Linked DNA regions of Homo sapiens: region 1 is linked to region 2. The links are contacts of gene promoters, found by promoter capture Hi-C in human tissues and cell types (Jung and others, 2019). All regions are on one chromosome and are shown on one strand. Each heading gives the region's core, a stretch centred on a gene start or on the middle of the fragment in contact. The rest is flanking DNA. Distances are from core to core; before and after follow the strand shown. Region 1 overlaps DCAF5 (DDB1 and CUL4 associated factor 5). Region 2 holds the start of PLEKHD1 (pleckstrin homology and coiled-coil domain containing D1).

The links. The method cuts DNA at HindIII sites, captures the fragments that hold promoters and counts their contacts. A contact is called where the count stands out against the background at its distance.
Region 1: a contact is called between a fragment that was not itself captured here and the fragment with the promoter of PLEKHD1 in region 2, in 1 of the 25 tissues and cell types used here (lymphoblastoid cells).

What each region holds. Positions count from the first base shown.
Region 1 is chr14:69,116,518-69,120,409 of GRCh38, reverse strand. DCAF5 (DDB1 and CUL4 associated factor 5) reads left to right here. Exons shown (of 9, transcript NM_003861.3): 3 at 1,180-1,216; 4 at 2,132-2,271. Among named protein-coding and RNA genes, the nearest start is that of DCAF5, 35 kb to the left of the region's middle. The HindIII fragment of the contact is 7,416 bases long and covers 1-3,892 here.
Region 2 is chr14:69,483,353-69,487,138 of GRCh38, reverse strand. PLEKHD1 (pleckstrin homology and coiled-coil domain containing D1) reads right to left here and starts at 2,411. Exons shown (of 13, transcript NM_001161498.2): 1 at 2,025-2,411. The coding sequence starts at 2,173. The HindIII fragment of the contact is 9,868 bases long and covers 1-3,786 here.

The DNA of each region.
Region 1 (3,892 bases), core at 340-2,839, 370 kb after region 2:
ATGATGAGGCTGGGCATGGTGGCTCACACTTGTAATAATCCCAACACTTTGAGAGGCCAAGGCAGGAGGATTGCTTGAGCCCAGGAGTTTGAGACCAGCCTGGGCAACATAGTTAGACCCCAACATGTTAGATCTCTACAAAAAAAATTTTTTTTTTAATTAGCCAGGCATAGTGACACATGCCTGTAGTTCCAGCTACTAGAGAGGCAGAGGTGGGAAGATTGCTTGAGCACAGGAGGTCAAGACTGTAGTGAACCATGATTGCACCACTGCACTCCAGCCTGGACAACAGAGCAGGATCCTGTCTCGAAAGAAAGAAGAAAAATTTTTAAAAGACAAACAGAGCAAGATCCTGTCTCAAAAGAAAGAAAGAAAGAAACATTTTTAAAAGACCATGAGGATAGAAATATTAACAAACATTTATTGGGGGCTTATTAAGTGATCAGCCCTATTCTGAATGCTTTTACAGATGTACTCTTATGCTTACAGTTACTCTATGATGTTATTATCCCTATTCTGTAGGTTAAAAAGTTAGGTCATAGAAATGCTAAAGATTTTATTGCAGGTCTCATGATTAGTGAGTGTTCTGCTGAAAAAGAAAAAAAATAAAGCTAGTGAATTGATTTGTCAATGATCATTTAGTGTTTTTCTTGATGGCCACAGTTTTGTTTTGTGTTGTTTCCCCCCTACTTTTTTTTTTTTTTTGAGACAGTCTCTCTCTGTTGCCCAGGCTGGAGTGCGATCGTAGCTCACTGCAGCCTTGAACTCCTGACCTCAAGCGATTCTTCCACCTCAGCCTCCTTAGTAGCTGGGACTTCAAGGGTGTGCCACCAGTTGGCTAATTTTTTTATTTTTATTTTCATAGAGATGGAGTCTAACTATGTTGCCCAGGTTGTAGCCACAGTTGTTTTTTTTTTTTACATCATCCACTGGATAATACACATTGGGAACTGTTACTGTGTTATACTTGGATGCCATTATTTTTTAAAAATTCTCTGTAAGAATGTCCTATCCTTCTTAAATTATTTCTATAAATCTTTTTTCCAGTTAACACTTCTAATTTGTATTAGCATTGGCTTTGTTCATATTTTTTCCCTGAAAACTTAAAAATACTAAATTGTAATGTGGACAGGGACCACCTTGCACGAATGATCAGATGTCTGCTTTTTTCTTTTGCAGGCAATGATGAGCAAGTTATCCTCCATGATGTTGAAAGGTAAATAGATTGGTGGTGTGTGAAGGTGATTGACTTTGTTTTTCATATATGAAGAGGCAAATATCTCTTTAGACTAAAATAGTTTTTGTTTTTTGAAAAAAACAACATGAAACCAGCTGTTCTTTTCTAAAAAAATTCCTACAATAGTTTGAAATAAATAAAGTTTTGATTTAAAAAGGAAAAAGGGATTTGAAAGTTTTGAAAGTTGGTATGAGAGTGTACTTTTTAGGTGAAAATTTAAAACAAGAGTTTAGAAGAGAAGGAACCATAATATTTAAGAACAGTAATAGCTAATATTGATTGAGTTCTTACTATGTGCCAGACACCATTGTAAATGCTTTGTACATATTCATTCATTTAATCCTCACACTCATTTTCTGAGGAGATACTATTGTCATCTCCGTTCTAGATCAGGAAACGGAGTCACAGACATGTTAGATAACAGAAGGTCAGGTGGTACTAAAACCTGAACTTAGGCTATCTGGCCTCAGAGCCATGCTCTTCATCACCATGCCAGATTGCTAGGAGACCCCTCTCCCATCCTGTAGGCATCAGACTTGGCTGCTTTAAAGCTTTCCCTTGCTTTTTGAAAATCAAGTATGACCCCCAAATCTGTACACAAGCAGATGCATTCTGTAATAAATGAAAATACAAAACTCAGCTATTGAGTCACTTTTAAATATGCTTATTTAGCACAAAAATTATAAAATCTCTAAAAAGACTCCTTAATAGTACCTTTTTTTTAACCTGAAAGTTGACTACCTACCTTTCAGGAAATATAATATTTTTTGGGTTTAGCTAGGTTGACTTTCTTCTAGAAATGGAAAAGATGGCACCCTCGGTACCAAAGTGCTGGGACTCTGCACTATGCTTGTGTGTATGTGTGTGCCTCTGTCTTGCTCTCTTATCTCCCAGCAGTGAGACATTGGACGTGTTTGCTCATGAAGATGCAGTATATGGCTTGTCTGTGAGCCCAGTGAATGACAACATTTTTGCCAGTTCCTCAGATGATGGCCGGGTTCTCATTTGGGACATTCGGGAATCCCCCCATGGAGGTAGGCTCACTGTGCAAATGACTGTTGGACTGTGTTGAACAGTTTGATGTCAGATTCATTGAAGATCCAATTTATTACCTCAGTATCTATGTGCAAGTGATGTCAAGGGAAAGGAAATGTGAAACACTCACATGGGGGCATAAGAGGTCTTTGGAGGCCTTATCCTCCACCTAAATACTCAGGAGTGAGGCACCTTTGCCAGTCCTTCTCCACCCTCCTGTGACTCTCCACAAACCCTTGTACTTTGGTGTTTAGTGCCCCAAGGAGCAGAAGTTGTGGTGCTGACATGTAACTATTCTTGATTATTTACAGAGAATGGGGGCGTTATGCACTTTCCTGCATCCTAGTTTCAGGCTTGTTATTTTGTTGAAAGAACCACCGAATCTCAAATTACCTGTGTATAGGATCTTAAAATGATGGCAAATAAACTCTGTTTAAAGGGGATTGTCGTGTGAGTGCCTCCTCTGAATGTGCCCTTTGACTCTCTGATGTGTGAAATGAAGAAGTTGCTTTGTTGACTTTCTCTGAAGTTCTTCAGGAAATGCATCTTCTCAGCTCATTTCCTACAGAGAGATTTCTGTAATTCTACCTGTCTTCAAAAGGCCCCTTCCTCTAGTACCAGCCTTAGTGCCACTGCCATACCCACCGTGGCCTTTAGTGCAGATTGTAATGATCACAGCTGTGTACCTAAATTTACTATCCTGCCTGCTCTGTCTGGCAGGATCTGGGTCTTTTAACTTTTCTATGTTCTAAACATTTTACATTCTGGGCTGTGCTCATTATTTAGGTTCAGGCTATAAGAGAAGCTTGTTTTTAGGGTTAGGCAGGTAAGGTAGCACGAAGTAGCAGCTGTGGTCGAGTCACTGTGGGCTTGGTAAGTGAAATTCTCCTTCGTCTGAACTGCCTGATGGCAGAGATGACTGAGTGCTTTACCTGCTCAGAGACCTGTGAAATACTGCATATGGAGGTCATAGACTGAGAAGTGCTTTCTTTGTATTACTCTAACAGGTCCCATAGGAGTATATCCTGCTAGGTAACTAAGTGATTTCTTCCTCACTTGGAACCTGCTAATTTTTGTAAAATGTTGCAGGGTTTCTAGGTGAAGTTGATTACAGACTGGCTAGATGTTAGGGAGCATTGTGAACCAGAAGAGAAAAACCACACCATTGTGTTTCACCACGTCTTAATTTTGTCATTGTTTTTTTTAATCTTCATCAAATCTGTGCATGGTTTAAAAACTTTTCTAAAACTAATACAATTGGATTAAAAGCATAATAACCCTACCATACTTGGTTGTGAATTTTTTCAGCTCATGTGGAATTCAGTTTTACTTACTGTAAAATGGCTTATTTTCCCATTTTTAGTGGCCGTTTCTGTTTTGTGTCAAGATCTGATAGCTGCTATATATATTTCTGGGTGTTATAGCTTAAAATGTGGTTAAATGTGTTTACCTTGCTATGTATAGGACTCATGGGGACCTTGTAAGTAGAGGTGACTGGTGGGATTATGTGCTGTTTTGGGGCTCCAGGCCGTTGGAGTGGTTATTAAAGAGTGCTCCGACCTGTATTCACATTCCTGATTATCTGCCTGCCAGTGGCCCACAGGTACCTGGAGTGAACTG
Region 2 (3,786 bases), core at 1,162-3,661:
GTGGGATGTTAGTTCTTTCTTGAGCCCCAGGTAGTCTTTGCACAGTGGCAGCTCTGAAATTCCTACAAAGGAAGGGAACCCAGGTAACAATCTCCTTGGAAGGAGGCTAAAGGACTTGACTTTTAGCTGTATTAGCAGAGCATACATACTGCTCAGACTCTGATTGCATCGTTTCGGGTGGCTTTGGGGGCCACGGTAGTGGATGGAGGAGAAGATGGAGTCTCTGGGTGGGGGACACTAAACCTCTCCAAGCCTCCTTGGCACTACCATTGTGCTTTTAGCTGGGGGCCTATGCCCTGTACTCCTGACACTTCCTAGCCCTGGAATCAACTGTAGGTGCAGAGACCAGTTTCCCAATGTACCTGCAGTGGTGAAGGGGAGGACCAGGGGACATACCCTGGGGGTCACAAGCACCTAGCATTTTCTAGGGATGCTGTCAGGTGAAAATGTCTGGCAAGAGAAGTCTTGGTTGACAGGACCCAGAACAGCAGCCAGACCCAATAGAAAAGAAAGATTAACTATCTGGAGCTGCTGAGGCAGAAGAAAGATGGGTGGTGGGGGGAGATATTCTGCTAATTGTGCTTGAATCTACACACAGCCTTTCCACCCCAGCTCTCCTGGCCCTGGGGGCTGTAGCTCACATAGCACAATACTGGAAGCTCCCCAAATACACTCCATGTTGCTCCAAGCCTTCATTTAGGGGGTCAGAGATAAGCTGAACTTTGGAGGAACTCAAGAAGCCTGTATCCCATTAAATCCCAGAGAGAAACCTGTCAGAAGCAACAAAACAACATGAAACCAGAGATATAAAATGTGAGCTACTGTCCACAGCTCCATTTGTTCTGCGGTCTTATAGAAACATTAAATTATTCATCAGAACAGAACATCAGCACCCACCACTACCACATCCACATGATCTGTGGTCCTGGGAACATTGGAGGCCCCCTCTGCTCAGGGGCAGACTCATAGAGTGTGGGATGGGGAAGGGGCATCTGGATACCCCTGGTTTCCTGGAAGGGTCACACCTCCGCGGAAGGGCTGGACAGGGTCTGCATTCTCCAGGCCATACCAGTAGTGAATCTCAGAACTGAAATTGACTGGAGAGTGGAAACTGTCCAGAAAATGGCCCACAGCACCTGCAGCCAGTTGGGAGCTTCCTGCAAGTCCAGGGCTGTGAACTCCCTCTTCCCTCAATACCTCCCAGGCTAATTTGTAAGTGGAGAGTGGCTACCGATGTCCGCGGAGTCGCGTCTGAGTTGGGGACCAGGCAGCTGGGGCTGAAGGATGGTTGGGACTACCCTGTCTCTCTCCACCACCCCTTTCAGAGGATCAATCCTTGGCAGAACCAATCTATCCCCTCCTTCACTCCAGCTGCCTCCCTCCTTTCCAGCTCCTCCGTCTGAAGCACTAGAATCTCTCTTCCCTGTGCTCACTTTTAAAAAAATTATTTCAAGGGACAGTTGGAGGGGTTGCCAAGGTCACTTCCCCATGGACAAGCACCCTTCCTGGCCCTTCCTCCCTCCTTAGCCTGAGCCTTTCAGAAGGGCCAGGTCCCTCTCCGTCTTAAGGGTGGGTGGTTGGCGGGAGGGAGACACTCAGGCCCGGTCCTCGCGGCCTGGGTCAGGGGTTGTGAAGACGATGGAATTGACAGTGGGGGTCCCGGGGTTGGGGGCATCTTTGGCTAGAGATGGAGTTTCTGCCTCCCCTCAGTCTGGCCTGATCTGACCTAGCTGGGATCCCACCCCGACCACGGTCTCTTCTGCCCACACCCAACATTCCCACTCGAGGGTCAGGTTCATTCCATAGAGAATTTGCCACCGCCCCAGGGCAGGGGCCCCATCTCCATTCTCCCGGCCCAGACTATGGTCCACATTTTCCTGCGGGAGCCAGTGTAGAGTGAAAAGGGGTGACGCCAAGGTCACACAGGAAAGCAGAGGCACGACGGCGACTGGAGGGGGTGGGAGGGGTAACGACGCCCAGGCTCTCTCCCCGGCGGTCTCCTTGGGGCGCGGGGGCGCACTCACCGCCGGGACCACTTGGCCGACGGCCTGCCGAAAGGCCTCTTCCACAGCACGCCGTAGAGCTGCACTTTGGTGCTGATATCCAGGGCGTCCGAGTCAGCCTGCTCCAGGGACGGCGAGGGCGACACCGAGTTGGACTTGGACGTGAACATCCTGCCTCAGCGGGGCTGTGCCCGGCCCGGACCCCACCTCCCCGGGGTCAGCAGGGACTCGGGGCGAGAGGCGAGGGCGGAGCCGTCGGAGAGCGTCCCAGCGAGCAGAGAAGCAGAGCGGCCCGGCCCGGAGCTGCAGCATCAAAGCGCGCTGGGCACTGGACGCGGCACCAAGGGGGCGCAGGGCGCGTAGCCGGCGGCTTGGGCTCCGGATTGCAGAGGGCCGGGCGGGAACTCCGCGGGGAGGGTGGCTCAGCCTCGGGCCGGCAGCATCTCCTCCCCTCCCGCCCTAGCCACCCACCCCCCCGGCGACAGCCCCAATTCTGGTGGCCCCGATTGGCTGGGAGTGGCAGGTGAGCCGGCGGGAGGCCGGCCTCGGGCGCCAATCAGGGCGGGCGCCGGCTGGAGGGCCGGGCTCCGTGCGTCCAGAAGGTCCCTGCGGGTCGCAGGGCCCGGGGACTTGGCCGCAGCGCGTCCCCGTCCCCGCCCCGCGCGCCCAACACCACCCCGGGGTCCCTCTCGGCGAGCAGCGCCGACATCGAGACGAGGGCCACGTCCGCTTTGCAATGGGGTTGGAGGCACTCCTGCAGACACCTGCTCGCCTCGGGGTGGAGGAGAGGACGGAGCTAGGGCGTAGGGTCACACACTCCGGCCTGGAATTCCACCGCAATTCCTACCGCTCCGTGAACTGCGGCGGTCTGGCTTTTCTCCCCAGTGAAGTGGCGATGCCTGATGCCCCGGGCAGGCGGGTGGCCAGGTAGGACTTCAGGAAGTGCCCAAAGTGCCCGCATGGGGAGGGGCTCCATCAAGATTGGGTTCCCCCCAACCCTTCCCCCTCAGGTGGGTTTCACTGTGCTCCGCCGCCGCCGCCTAGCGCGCATCGGATCGGATTTCTCTTCCTGGAACCTGACCGTGTCTGTGTCGGCATTTGGCACTCAACGCCAGTCTGGAGCTATCCGTGCAGTGTGTGTCCGTGATTTATCTGCGCGCCTGGCCCGCGCTCCCTGGGACCAGCTGTTCCATCCGCTTCCGCTCCTTTCGGAGTTGGCGTTTGGGGTGACCGGCTCATTTTCAGGCCAGGGAGATGCCGGCCGGGCCCCAGGGGACCGCCTCCTCCCGGCAGGTGGAAATGCTAGGCTGGCACAGCTGCCTGCCCCGCGCCACCTGCCAGGCGTGGAGACCGCGCAGTGAGCGGCCGCCCGCCAGACCACGCCGCAGTCGCGCTTTTCCAAGATGAGGAGCCAAGGACGCCTCTGGAAGTCGGATTGCAACAGAAGTTTACAAATGGTTAGCCCGAGAGCCAGATCCACATTGCTTTATGAATTTGCCCCAAGTTTTTAAATTGAGGTATACTTCATGGTAAAATGCACACATCTAAGTTATTTCTTTGATGAAGGTATATAAGATGTAACCCCACCCAAAGCAACAGACAGAACATTTCCATCACCTGCAGAAAGTTTCTTCATGCCCCTTTATAGTCAATCAGCCCCCCAACAACAACCACTTGTATCATTCTTACCACCTCTGCACAGTAGACTTAAGTCTTTGAATGTAATGCCTAAAGGCGCATCCCCACAGGCCCCATCATCCCCTATTGTCTGACCTGCCTGGCC